Linked DNA regions of Homo sapiens: region 2 is linked to region 1. The links are contacts of gene promoters, found by promoter capture Hi-C in human tissues and cell types (Jung and others, 2019). All regions are on one chromosome and are shown on one strand. The core of a region is centred on a gene start or on the middle of the fragment in contact, and the rest is flanking DNA. Distances in the headings are between cores, read along the strand shown.

Region 1 (7,124 bases), core at 2,841-5,340:
CACACATACTTACTGAAACCCTAAATGCAAGCCTCGCACTGGGATCCAAAGGTAAATTAAGATGATGGTCCCTGCCTGCAGAAGCTCTCAGCCTAGTGCAGGGAACAAACATGTGAATACATGCCCTTTTATTTTGTAAAAGGAGTGGTTGAGAGAGTGAGGAAGGAAGAAATGGCTCTGCTCATGAAGGTGAAGAGGGCATCAGGAAAAGGAGGTGTTACTTCAACTGCATCTTAAAGGGAGGTAACACCTGACCAGACAGGGAAAGGGGTTTCCCTTCTTGGTACAGGAAACCACATGTTCAGGTGAACAGAAGTGTCAACAGGAGGACAGGTAGGAGGACCACAAGTATTCCCATGGGACTGCAGCCAAGTATATGGGGTTAGCAGCCAGATAAGACTGTGGAGATTGGCCAGGCGCGGTGGCTCACACCTGTAATCCCAGCACTTTGGGAGGCCAAGGCGGGCGGATCATGAGGTCAGGAGATTGAGACCATCCTGGCTAACACAGTGAAACCCTGTCTCTACTAAAAATGCAAAAAAAAAAAAAAATATATTAGCCAGGCGTGGTGGCGGGCGCCTGTAGTCCCAGCTACTAGGGAGGCTGAGGCAGGAGAATGGCGTGAACCCGGGAGGTGGAGCTTGCAGTGAGCCGAGACTGCGCCACTGCACTGTAGCCTGGGCGACAGAGCAAGACTCCGTCTCAAAAACAAAAACAAAACAAAACAAAAAAACTGTGGAGATGGGTCAGCAGCAGGGGCCAGGTGATGATGCCAGACCACTGGGTCCTGGGCGCTTATCACCTTGTGCCTTGCTGGTCCCCAAGATGTGGTCCTCAAAAAACTAAAAAGCTATAGTCACATGCATTTGGAAGAAGCCAAGTTAAGGCTAAACAGGTTTTTATTTATTTATTTATTTAATTTACTTATTTATTTATTTTTACTGCAGGATTTCTAGAGCTTACAAAGTGCTAAGTGCATGAGGGCTCTACCAAGGGGGAAATATATAGCGCAGTGTGTACTGAACCCCTTTTGCAGGAAAGCCCTCAGAATCCTCACCTGGGGAAATTCTGCTGTAAGCAATGAAAGGCCATGGAAGGATTCAGATTTTCATTTGGAAATATGCATTCTGCGGAATGAGTGAGGGCTGGGTGGGGTGGGTAGTGAGATGAGACATAAGGAGACCAGTGGGGAGGAGGTGCTCCATGAAACACCTGAGTGCAAAGGGGCGTGCACAGGCTCAGGGATTCAAGAGGCATTTGAAGGTAGAATCAATAGACTGAACTGCCCTTGGGAGGGAGGGACGTGTGTCTGCGCCAGGGTTTTGGCTTCTGGCTCTGGTCATGTCTTATCGGTCATTGGATGTAGCTTCTGGCATCTAGCAGGAAGGCCTGCCCTACTAATATATTTGGAGTTGGGTGTGACTGTATGGCGGCACTGAAGCCTCAGTGGATGAGCTCATCACCAGGTCAAGTCTAAGGGGAGAACAGGACTGTGGACAGACCCAGCAGACATCCATGTTTTAGAAGTGGGCAGGGAGGAGTGGTCAGCAAGGGAGCAGGCGTCCTTGAAGCCAGGGGAGGACAGGGTTTCAAAAACAAGAGAGCAGTGTGTAGTAACCCTCCACATGCAAGTTACAACAGCAGAGAGGTTTTCATCTATCAAACCAGCAGAGATTGATTTATTTATGTATTTAACAGTTATATCTAGTGTTGGTAAGGGTGATAGAAAATAAGCACCCTCGTGCTATTGGGGCAACAGATAATATGTATCAAAAACCATAAAAAGTGTATATGCTCTTTGATTCAAATATTCCATCTCTAGACGCCTGTAATCCCAGCACTTTGGGAAGCTGGGGTGGGCAGATCACCTGAGCCCAGGAGTTCAAGACTAGCCTGTCCAACATGGCAAAACCCTGTGTATACTAAAAATACAAAAATTAGCCAGGCATGGTGGTGCACGCCTGTAATCCCAGCTGCTCAGGGGGCTGAGGCACAAAGACCACTTGAGGCGGAGGCTGCAGTGAGCCAAGATCATACCATTGCACTCCAGCCTGGGTGACAGAGCAAGACTCCATCTCAAAAAAAAAAAAAAAAAATCCATCTCTAGAAATTCATCCTAAAGAAATCACCATGGATGTGCACAGATTATTCTACAAGATTGTTCATAACAACATAGTATATAATATAAAAATATAATTATCCCATAACATAAGCTTGATTAAAAAAATTATGATAACAATATGATGAAAAAATACCACGAAGCCAGTAAAAAAAGTGTGCAATAATTAATGGCATAGTGAAATACTGCAATATAACGTGAAGCTAATAAAGCAAATAAGATCCTGTTTTTTGTATGAAAAAATACACATACATGTAAGAAAAAGAGACATCAAATATTACCAGTGATTATCTCTGGAAACAGGGATTTGGGTGATTTTAAAATTTGTTGGGGGTAATATTTTTACTTTTCTGTACTGACCTGGCATAAGTTCCTTAATCGCTGTGTGCCTCAGTTTCCTCATTTGTTAAAAGAGGAGGTTCCAATGGTATGTACCCCCTGATGATGTGCAAAAGTGATTATGAAACTATTTTCAAAAGTTTCTACAAAAGCAAGTTACCTCTGTAATCAGGAAAAAGTAGTTCTTTTAGTGCTCTGAATAGTGTAATAATAATATTTATTTTATTTCATTTTATTATTTACCCTTGCAGAAATTTACTTCTTCGGTAAAAGACAGACTAGGCATGTGCTTAAGGAGCCAGCAAATGACCATTTACATTAATAATTTATTTAATATAGAAATTTTTATTGAAGTGATGACTTCTAAATGTGATTTTTGGGGGCATTATACACTTGCTTCGAGGTTTAATCTTCAATCCACATGGGGGGGCACCATAATCACTGGTGCCCAGGGCCCTCGTCTAGCCCCTGTGAGGCCCTTTGCAGTCCCTCCCTTGCCAGCCCCTCCAGCCTCCGCCATTTGCCCCGTGGGCTCTCCAGGTTCCACTTGAGGAGCTGCCCCCTGCCCCAGCCCAGCTCTACTGCTGTGTGACCTAGCGTAAGTCCCTTAACCGCTGTGTGCCTCAGTTTCCTCATTTGTTAAAAGAGGAGGTTCCAGTGGTAGGTACCCCCTGACGATGTGCAAGCATCACAGAAATGACACAAGACACACACTGAGAACATGCCTCGCGCGTGGCAAGTGCTGACTGTTACCTGCCATTATTAGGCTCCCCCGCCGGGGTCTCAGGGCCTTGGCACAAGCTCTTCCCTCTGCTTGGAGCACTTTCCTCCACTGACCTTTCCTGGCGCTCCAGGTCAACTCCAGGAGCCTTCCCAGTACAGTCTAGGTGCCTTCTCCTTCCGCAGCGCCTGAACCACACAGGAATAAGTAAGGCGAGAGCGCGCCCAGAGAAGAGCAGAGAGTGCAGAAAGGGGCTGAGTTAGTAGAGGCATTTCCGCGGGGATCCTTCTCCTGCCAGGCCTGCACCGGGGCCGTGGCGACTGAGAAGTGCACAGGTGGCTCCCGGGTGCTCCAGAAGGGCCCCAGAGCTCCTGGCCCGGCTAAAGGCAGGAGGCGGGTGCGCGTCTCCCCCGCGAAGCTGGATCAGTACTGGGGGCGCAGGGGGCGCACGCCGCGCAGCGAGGGCTGGCGGGGGCGGCCTGCCTGGGGCGCTGCCCAGGCTCACGCGGGAGCCAGGTGGGGGCGCGGGGAGGAGCAGCTGAGCAGGTGCCGGGAAGGAGGCGCCTGCAGCATGCCATGGCGACCCGCGCACGCGACGGCGGGGCGGCCGGGTGGCACCACTGGCGGGACCGGAAGGGCGCCGCGGCCCTAGGATCTCTGCGCCGAGGCCCGCGGCGGAAGCCACGACGGCCATGACCACGCTGACGCCCAGGCTGCGAGCCCCTCGCCCGGGCCGCCTGCCCACCCGCCACGCCCAGGTAGCACCTCGGGGTCTCCCCACCCGCGACACCGGCCGCAGCCCCGGGCCCCCTCGCAGGCGTGGCCCCCGCTCCCAGGCCCCGCCCCCGCCCCCCCATTGGTCAGTCCCGGGGTGGGGGCGGGCGACGCGGACCGCTGGGCAGGGCAGGGCAGGGACTCGCGGGAACCGCACCAAGCGGGTGGCTGCAGGAGCTCGCCCATCGCCCCTGCGCTGCTCGGACCGCGGCCACAGCCGGACTGGCGGGTACGGCGGCGACAGACGGATTGGCCGAGAGTCCCAGTCCGCAGAGTAGCCCCGGCCTCGAGGCGGTGGCGTCCGCGTCCTCTCGTCCAGGAGCCAGGACAGGTGTCGCGCGGCGGGCGCTCCAGGGACCGCGCTGAGGCCGCGGTCGCCGCCCGTCCCGCCCCGCCCCGCCGCCCGCCGCCCGCCGAGCCCAGCCTCCTTGCCGTCGGGGCGTCCCCAGGCCCTGGGTCGGCCGCGGAGCCGATGCGCGCCCGCTGAGCGCCCCAGCTGAGCGCCCCCGGCCTGCCATGACCGCGCTCCCCGGCCCGCTCTGGCTCCTGGGCCTGGCGCTATGCGCGCTGGGCGGGGGCGGCCCCGGCCTGCGACCCCCGCCCGGCTGTCCCCAGCGACGTCTGGGCGCGCGCGAGCGCCGGGACGTGCAGCGCGAGATCCTGGCGGTGCTCGGGCTGCCTGGGCGGCCCCGGCCCCGCGCGCCACCCGCCGCCTCCCGGCTGCCCGCGTCCGCGCCGCTCTTCATGCTGGACCTGTACCACGCCATGGCCGGCGACGACGACGAGGACGGCGCGCCCGCGGAGCGGCGCCTGGGCCGCGCCGACCTGGTCATGAGCTTCGTTAACATGGGTGAGTGCGGCCGCCCGCGCGGGGACCCTCGGAGTAAGCTGGCTGCAGGGGAGGGGCGCGCATCCGCGGGCTGTGCCGGGCCCTGGCCGAACGGGGAGTCACAGACGGTGGACGCGAACCACAGGGGAGTGGGACCGCCGTGGTTAGGGAAGGTCTAAGGGTCATGGGGGCCCCCTGGGCTGCGGGGTGGTCAGGAGCAGAGTGTGGGGGACTGTGGACTCCCAGGCGCTGCCTTCACCCTGCCCCAAACACACCCAGGAGTAAGAATCAGGTGATGTCTTTGCCCACCTGGGCTGCCCCGGGAAGACAGCCTGGTCCTGGGGAGACAGGTGAGTAAACAGAGGCCGGGATGCTGTCACTGTGATAAGGGCAGTACTGAGGAGAGGGACAAAGTTCAGCGTGGAAACCTGTGGTCACATCGGAGTGACCAGAGCTGAGTCGCGTGCCCTGAGTCCACAGCAGGCTCTTCTCTGTGCGGAGCCTGGGTGGGGTGCGGCTGTCAGGGGGGCGGCTGGGGAAGGAGCAAACTCAGCTCGCTGGGGCAGGGACTGTTGCCTTGTCACCCTGGGCCCAACACCTGGGATGTGATCTGGTATGGGGTGAGTGTCCAGTCCTGTGGAATGGTCCAGTGGGCAGCTGGACCCACTTTGTTCTCCCAGGCAAAGCCCGGCTTTTCCTGTCTGCAAATATCTTGTATCAAACCCTGGAGCTATTTATTCCCTAAGATCTCAGAGATTTTTTTTCCAGTACTAAACTCTTTGGTCTATGGTCATGTAGTTACTATTGGTCAGGTCACCCATCTGCTTTGCCTCCTGTCTGTGGCTAGTGACAGTCTGGGGTCTGGGGAACCAAGGACCACAGATCAGCCCAAAGTCGGGGAGCTGTGGGGCTGAGAGGAGGGAGAGGGTCCCTGGCCCCGGCCATCAGCCTCCCTCCACAGACAGCATCATTAATTCTTCATCCTCCCGACAACCCTGATAACAGCCACGGTCTTCATCCCCATCTCCCAGATGAGGACAGTGAGGCTCAGAGAGGCAGCGCCATGCCTAGGACAGCGCAGCCTCTACGCTGCTGAGCCAGGACAGGCCCAGGAAGCCTGACTGTCCATCCAGGGCTCAAAGAGATGACATTTCTGTTGTCAGGTCAGGCTTTCAAGGTGCAGAGACCTTTCTGAGGAGTCTGGGCTGAGGAAAACAGGGGACTGAGCCGCAGCAGGTTTTGTGGGGCCATCAGCCATTTGCTTCCTACACTAGGACAGAAGAGGGCATGGCCAAGCCTCTGCTTCCCGCAACCCAGAGCTGGTGGTGGAGGCGAGCAGCAGGAGGCAGCCATTCACCATCACTGAGCGCCCAGTGCCAGGGACAGGACTCTAGCCGGTGGGATCTGGATGCTGCCTTTGTAGTTAGAGGACAGGGTGGGGATGTGGGACAGAGGAGACCATCTGTGAAGCTGGGGCTGGGGCTCTGTCATCAGGACAGGCTGACACTGGGCTCAGGACCAAGAAGAGTTGTGGATGGAGTCGTCCAAGAATGTCCCCAGGGAGCCGCCCATCAGAATGCGTCACCACCCAGCCCACATCCGACCTCCCCTGGCATCCCCTGGGTCAAGGCATGCACAGCCTGGTGGGGCTATTGCTATGAATTGGGCAGGGCCTACCCCTCTGTGTGACCTTAGGAAAGTTCCTCACCCTCTCAGCCTTCGTTGCTCCTTGTAAAATGAGGTGCCTGGTGATCTGTCCTCAGGGTTGTTGTGTGATTGGTAGAGGGGCAGGAGTAGAAAGCCTGTGCTGCTCCCCTCAGAGGGTGAACCTGGACCTGGGCACTGTTGGCCCCAGGCCCTCCCAGCTGTGGCCTAGTTCGGAGGTGACAGGAACATCTCCACATGTCTTATACACATGTAAAACCTAGAAATGGATTCTAAAAGCCAATCAAAAAGTGTTTGTACCTGTTTTTAGAATGAAAAGTAGCATGTGAACTTTCACAGCCTTACAATTCCTCATTTAACTCATGTGAGACTGTTTTGCCAGCCCTGTTTCATGGGCTCAGAGAGGTTAAATAGCCAGCCCAGGGCCACACCGCACATCCGGGGTGACATCCACGGCTGTGGATTTCAAATCCCAGCTTCTTCCCACACCAGCTTTGTGCATTTCATGAAGACTTGGGGCCTCCAGCGCTGCGAGATTAACAAGCAGATCATTGTTAGTGGAAGCCCAGGCTGTGGGTGGGCGCAGCCAGCTGTCAGAAAGGCCTTCTTTATTCTGCTGTGCTAACTGCACTAGTAGAACTCTCTCAGTTAGAGTAGCTTTAACTGGTAATTACTGA
Region 2 (7,124 bases), core at 1,908-4,407, 270 kb after region 1:
ACAGGGCCTCGGCCCCAGCCTGCCCGACCCTCACCAAAGATCCCTGGGAGTCGGTTGGCCTGCGGCAGCTCGTTGCTTTTCTTCGGTTGCCTCCTCCTCAGTGGCCTCACTGCCCGAGGGGTGCGGATGGGACTCGGACTGGCCCTGAAGAAAGTGACCACGAAAGGCTGTTGGGAGCGTGGGGCCCGTTGACCCAGCAGGCCGGCCAGGCCAGGATCCACGCTGTGCCCTGAGACAGAAAGGAGAGAGGGGTCACTCACGGGCAGCGGCCCTGCAGCAGACACAGCAGCGGTCTCTCTGCCGGGGCCTGGGCAGGTCCAGGAGCGTGGAGGCTGAGGACCCAAGGGGTCCTGCTGAGCCTCAGTTTCCACATCTGAAGCCTGGAGTCCTTGGTCCAGCCCCAGCCAGTCCACGTCTCTCCTGGGGACAGATTTGGAGGAGGTGGGAGGGGGTGCTCAGTGAGCTGCAGGCGGTGTTATTAGTGACAGCTGCGTCACAAATAATAACATTTGTGAAGTGTTTTACAAGTTGGAAGATTTTTCCCATGGATCACCTCATTGGGTCCTTACAGTGACCCTGCAGCTCCTACTTCACAGGAGACCCAGAGTCCTACTGCCAGTGACTCCGAGAACCAGCGCTCCCACCTTGGTCCAAGGACGCCGAGACCTGTGTTCTGTCTTCCGTCCCGCACTTTCTGGGGTGTGAATGTCAAACTTATCACCGAGACAGCTCGTGGTAGCATCTGCCAGGTTGAGCGAGTGCTTGTTCTGCTGGGCACAGCCCAAGAGCAGGGCATTAACTGTCTCCCTGATGCCCACAAGGGAGATGCCAGGCAGAGCAGAAACATTGAACCAAGTCCCAGAGCCCAGGTTGCAGCCTGCGGCAGTCTCATTCCAGAGCCCGAGTTCTTATGCACGAGCTGGGCTTATGGACAGAAAAGAAAGAAAGAAAAGGCTGAAACAGAGATCTGACTTGGGCCTCAGCCCCAGGAGGAGTGAAGCCTGTAAACGGGATTGTCCCCCACAGCCGCTTCCAGACTGAGGATGCCGCTGAAAACATGATAACTAACCCTGGAGATGCCAAGCCTCACCAATAAAACTGTGTATCATCCTGTACTTGTTTGGATTTCAATAACCTTTCTATTGTAAAAGCAATTAAGTAAAGAAACTTTTGAGGCCAGGCAAGGTGGCTCACGCTTGTAATCCCAGCACTTTGGGAGGCCGAGGTGGGAGGATTGCTTGAACCTAGGCATTTGAGACCAGCCTGGGCAACATAGTGAGACCCTGTCTCAACAAAAATATAAAAACAAAAATGAGCTGGGCATGGTGGTGAACTTCCCGGGAAGCTGAGGTGGGAGGACTGCTTGAGCCTGGGAGGTTGAGGCTGCAGTGAGGTGTGATTGTGTCACCACACTCCAGCTGGGCGACAGAATGAGAGTGTGTTTCAAGGAAAAAAAAACAAAACACAAAACTTTTTCTGGTTGTTTAAATAAGTCTCCACAATAAACATTTCAAATTTATAAAATCCCTTGGAGCAGTATACCGTAATTGACTTGATATTGGCTCATCATAGACATGTAGGTTATTTCCCGGCTTTCATGATAAAGATGGGAGTGCAATGGAGCCTCTTCACTCCGTGCATGGGTGAAATTTCCTGATACTGAATTGCAGAAGCATGATTACCAGCTCATTTTCATGTCTCTTTAAACAGTGCCAGTTGTTCAGTTTACACGAAAGTACATTTCACCTCCATGTTATAAGCACAGATGTACACACGTATGTACACACAGGCATATGTTTGCATAAACACACAGATGCACATACGCTCAGACAGACATCACACACACAGATGTATTTATTCCTACGTAGTTCTCCAGTACACCCTACAGGTCAAGGACACTGCCTGCCCCACCCTCAGTCCCACTCAAAGGTCAGCCCTTAAGCAGCTGTGCCTCAGCCCTGGTGTCCCTTGGCCACTTGACTGAACAACCAGTGAATCCAGAGACCAACCTTTGACCCGTGACATCATCCGCCACAAACAAATGCACTGGCAGGAGAGGCTCCCTCCCTCTCACGAGCATGGACAAGAGCTGCTGAGACAGGGAGGCTGTGAGCTGCAGATGCTAACATGGGAAGGAGGCCCAGAGAGAATCCACTGGGCAGGGCTTGAGTCACGGTGAGTCAAGGTTATGGGGAAGCAGCAGAAATACAAGGAACAGAGCTGGGGCACAGAGGAAAAGACAAGTGAGGTCACAACGGAGAGAGAACAGAGCAGCCTGAGTGGGGTGGTGGTGGTCACCAGCCCGGGCACTGGAGTGTCACTCTGCAGACTGGCTGACCCATGGGGACAGCCTGGGGCCCAGGGCAGCCCTCCTGGCTCCACTTGCAGCTCTGTCCTGTGACTCCCTGGGGAGCCCTGCCTGCTATGGGGCCTGAGAGGCCATCAGTCCTGCAGGCTTTCCTCACTATTTGCTTCTGTGCAGCTGTGTTCAAGGGTCTTATGGGGGGTCTCCCAGACACAGGATAGAATGTCGCATTAGATCAGTTACACCACAGACCCTCACAGAGCCCCTCTGAGCCAGGCCTGGCTTGGGTGCTGGGAACCCCTCTGTAGGTCTCACAGGCCAGGCGAGCCTTGAAACCTTGGAAGCAGCTAATCCCAGGTTCCCATTTTACAGAAGCAGAAACTAAGGCCCAGAGAGAGCAGCAACTGTCCAAGGTCCCAGAGCAAGGTGGGTCGGAGCCAGGATTGTCATATACTTTTCCAGCAAACTGCAGGGCCCAGCTGGATGTGGCTGGGCAAGATGGGGGGTGGTGAAGGGGACTAACAGTGGGTCTGGGTTCAGAGCCCTGCATCTGGCAGGCCTGGAGAAGCTCCCCCATCCCCAGCCCTCTCCTTCCAGAGCCCAGAGCCTCCCTTCTCCATCAGCTCTGCTTCTTACCCACCCATTCTTAGGCAGGACTCCCTGGCTCCAGCTGGCTGCAGGGAAGGCCAAGCAGTCAAGGTGGGGGGCTCTCAGGCTGCCCAGCTGTGGGCAGGCCCCTTCCAGAAAGGTGGAGTTGGAGGCCCAGAGGGTCACTTGTCCGCTTCTAGATACCTCAGCCTTTTCCACACTGCTCCTGGGAAACTGACGCCCAGGGCAAATCAGGTGCCCCTCTCCAGGAGCCCCAAAAGGCACCCCACTGCCCACTAGATGACATTTCATTTCAAGCCCCCAACCCCAGCCATAGTCCCTGGCCCCTTTTCCACACCCCCAGTCTGTGCCCTCCATGAGCGCCAACTCTCCCTGCCCTGCTCTCCTTCCCAGGATCTGGCCTTTCCTGCAGGGTGAGGCTCCAATGGGCCCCTGGAAAGTCTGTCCTTGACCAGTGAGAACTTACTACTCTGACCACATGCCCCCAATGGCCTGGGAACCCCCAGAGCTACACTTATGCAGTGCATGCACCAGGCCAGGCTTGGCTGTCAACAGCACGTGTGCACGCGTGCATGCGCACACACACACACACACAATCTTAATTTTAGTTTTTGAGACTATAGATTCAGGAGGAAATGCCTCGCAGCCTCTTGGGTTACAACGGACCATCACACAAGTGGCCAGTTTGGGCCTCCATCCCAGAGAGGAGGGCCTAAGTGTCTGGTGTGAATGATGCAGGAACAATTCAAATGAAGCTGAGAAAACTCATCTAGTCCCTTGGTTAGGGTTCTAGAACTCCTCCTGTCCTAGGCTGTAGCCTTTGGCCACACACAGATAGAGGAAGCTTCCTGGTGGATTTCAGGACCGGCAGCCTCTCCCCTCTCAGTCTCTCCCATCACCCGGTCCCTTCCCTTGGAGATGGTCCTGCTTTCCTTCTACGGACATCTAGAAGCTTAACATCTCATAGGTCCCAGGAGGAGAGATGTGGGAGGAGGAGGGGAGGCTTCAGGGAAACAAAATTTAACAACAAAGGCCCCAGAAGAAATACCAGATAACGGATAAAAACGTTCAAGAAGGCCGGGTGCAATGGCTCAAGCCTGTACTTTGGGAGGCCAAGGCAGGTGGATCACCTGAGGCCCAGAGTTTGAGACCAGCCTGGCCAATATGGAGAAACCCTATCTCTACTGTTAAAAATATATATACAAAAATTAGCTAGGCATGGTGGCACATGCCTGTAATCCCAGCTACTTGAGAGGCTGAGACATGAGAATTGCTTGAACCCAGGAAGCAGGGGTTGCAGTGAGCTGAGACTGGACCACTGTACTCTAGCCTAGATAACAGAGTGAGATTCTGTCTAAAAAAGAAAAAAAAATTACAGTAAGCTAAGGTTAATTGGCCCAACTCAGTGGCTCATGTCTGTAATCCCAGCACTTTGGGAGGCTGAGGCAAGTGGATCGCTTGAGCTCAAGTGTTCAAGACCAGCCTGGGCAACATGGTGAAACTCCATTTCTATAAATAAATTTAAAAAATAAAAAAAAATAAGCAGGCATTGTGATGTGCGCCTGTAGTCCCAGCTACTCAGGAGGCTGAGTTAGGATTGCTTGAGCCCAGGAGGCAGAGGTTGCAGTGAGATCACTGCATTCCATTGCATTCCAGCCTGAGTGACAGAGCCAGACCCTGCCTCAAAAAAAAAGAAAAAAGAAAGAGAAGGAAAAAGAAAAAACAAGCTCATGAAGATAGCATGTCTTCCAATCACAAACTCACATCTTTGCTCGCCTATTTCTCACTGCAGTAGTAAAATGTCCCTTCAGGTGTACTCTGGGTTGAGTGATTTTCTCCCTCGTCAGTTTTTATCTCCATTTCATGGTTCAAGTACGAGGGAGGCGCTTGAATCAAATCTTGCTGTGAATGCGCTGAGCTGTGCACGCTCTGTGTAAACATCACAGAGCAAAGCGGACATCCATTCCTCACCACTGCAGACCTGCGCCTTGCAGTGCTCGAGAAACACAGTGAGGAACTGATCTGTTTTCCTGTTGTTTTTAATTAAAGTCGCAGCTCTCTAGAGGAGCACTGTCCACCTAGGGAGGAAAGTAGGAGGCCAGTAGCAAACCCCTCCCAGAGCTGGGGACATGTATTCCCCTGGGGAACCCGGTGGCATCCGCCCTGAGGAGCGCACCACCCCGCCCAGATCCAGGTCCCGTCAGGGTACCACCTGCTGCATGGGCCTGAGGTTCGGGGACACAGCAAAGGCACACCCCGTGCTCTTTTTGATGTCGTCCACCGTCAGGCCCTCCCAGAGCTCCCTCAGCGTCAGCCTTTTCTTCCTGTGCACGTCAAACACGGCCTTCTCGGTGATGATGCGGTCCACGCACCGCTTCCCGGTCAGCGGCATGGTGCATTTCTCCATGATCTTGGGGGTGTTGTCCTTTGTGCAGTGCTGCATGGTGACCACCACTCTGGTCTTCTGACTGGACACCAAGTCCATGGCACCGCCCATGCCTTTCACCTTCTTGCCAGGGATCATCCAGTTCGCCAGGTCGCCGTATTTGGAAACCTGCATGGCTCCAAGCATGGTTAGTTGGATGTGTCCCCCTCGGATCATGGCGAAGGAGTCGTCGCTGGCGAAGAAGCAGCCCCCGGGAAGCACCGTGACCGTCTGCTTGCCTGCATTGATGAGGTCGGCATCCACCTCATCTTCCGTGGGAAACGGGCCCAGGCCCAGGATCCCGTTCTCACTGTGAAGATGGACAGTCATGCTGGGACTGATGAAGTTGCTGGCCAGCAGGGGGATGCCTATGCCCAGATTGGCGTACATGCCGTCCTCAAATTCCAGAGCTGCGCGTCTGATGATGCGCGTCCTGGCGTCCTCTTCCTTTCCAGCGTCTCCATCTTCCTCTTTCCGGATCGTTAAGCGCTCAATTCGTTTCTCGTATTTCTGCCCCTTTATCACGCGACCTACATAAATGTTAGGAACGTGGATGTCTTCTGGGGGGAAGCCCCCACCTCCACCGCCGTGACGTCTGCAGCTTTGCACATGGGCACGTTGAAATTGCGGGCGCTTCTCCTGAAGACCACGTTTCCTGCCCGGTCGGCCTTCCACCCTTTCACCAGGGCGAAGTCTGCCCGGATGGCGCGCTCCAAAAGGAAGTGGTCGCCGTTGAACTCCCTCACCTCTCGGGGCTGGCTCATGAGCGCCAGGTGGCCGTCCGGGGTGTAGCGGATGGGGGCGCCCCCTTCCTGGACCAGGGTCCCGTAGCCCGTGGGGGTGTAGAAGGCGGGCACCCCGGCGCCCCCCGCGCGGATGCGCTCGGCCAGGGTGCCCTGGGGCGTGAGCTCCAGCTCCAGCTCTCCTGCCAGGTACTGGCTCTCGCACAGGGTGTTCTCGCCCACGTAGGAACAGACGATGCGACGGACCTGCCTGGCGGCCAGCAGGAGGCCCAGGCCGAAGTCCTCCACGCCCACGTTGCTGCTGACCACCTGCAGGTCTTTCACGCGGGTCCTGAGCAGCGCGGCGATCAGGTTCTCGGGGATCCCGCAGAGCCCGAAGCCCCCGATCATGACGGTCGCCCCGTCAGAGATGTCCTTCACCATCTCCACCGGGTCCGCGTAGAACTTGGCACGGGGCCGGGGACTGGTGGCAAAGCAGCGGGCGCAGCCCTGGGACAGCGCGAGCCCTGAGCCGCCGGCGGGGACCCCGCGCCCGAGCACTGACGCCAGGAGCCGCAGCGCCGCCATAGTCGGCCCGGGTCGGAGGCCAGGACAAGTGGTGTGAGCCCTGCGTGCGCCTCGGGCCGCGCGTCACAGAGCAGGGCGGGCGCCCGCGCCCTGACGCACTCCCTCCCAGCAGGTCTCCCCGGCCAGGCGCAGGCTCTAGGCCAGGCCCGCGACCCGCAACAGGGAGGGGGCCGGCTCCGCCCTGGGCTGGGGGCCCCGAGTCAGTCCTCCGTGTCCAGCGCACAGGCCCGGGCGCAGGACAGAGCTGAGGTCAGGCTCCGCGAGTAGGGCACAGGCTAGGTCCCCTCCTGCCCCAGTGGAGCCTCAGACACAAACTCCAACCACCCCGCCCAAGCTTCCCCCCAGCTTCCCCAGCTCATTAAAGACACCAAGTGTCCAATGAGCAGGCGCCGCTGGGTGACACCGACGCTCATGAACACCTTCACTGGGCATCACTCTGTGCCAAGCACCCTCCTTTAATCCTGTGACAACCCGG

Evidence for each region. Contacts are between HindIII fragments. The study calls those that stand out against the background at their distance.
Region 2: a fragment that was not itself captured here is called in contact with the fragment with the promoter of BMP8B in region 1 in 1 of the 25 tissues and cell types used here (aorta).

The regions. Positions count from the first base shown.
Region 1 is chr1:39,785,831-39,792,954 of GRCh38, reverse strand. BMP8B (bone morphogenetic protein 8b) reads left to right here and starts at 4,090. Exons shown (of 7, transcript NM_001720.5): 1 at 4,090-4,803. The coding sequence starts at 4,470. It overlaps LOC101929536 (a long non-coding RNA gene), which reads right to left and starts at 3,979. Exons shown (of 1, transcript NR_135805.1): 1 at 2,784-3,979. RefSeq lists an enhancer at 3,483-3,984 and a silencer at 3,539-4,138. The HindIII fragment of the contact is 10,857 bases long and covers 933-7,124 here.
Region 2 is chr1:39,514,481-39,521,604 of GRCh38, reverse strand. BMP8A (bone morphogenetic protein 8a) reads right to left here. Exons shown (of 7, transcript NM_181809.4): 4 at 35-229. It also overlaps the pseudogene OXCT2P1. Among named protein-coding and RNA genes, the nearest start is that of BMP8A, 26 kb to the right of the region's middle. RefSeq lists a silencer at 6,799-6,888. The HindIII fragment of the contact is 4,536 bases long and covers 890-5,425 here.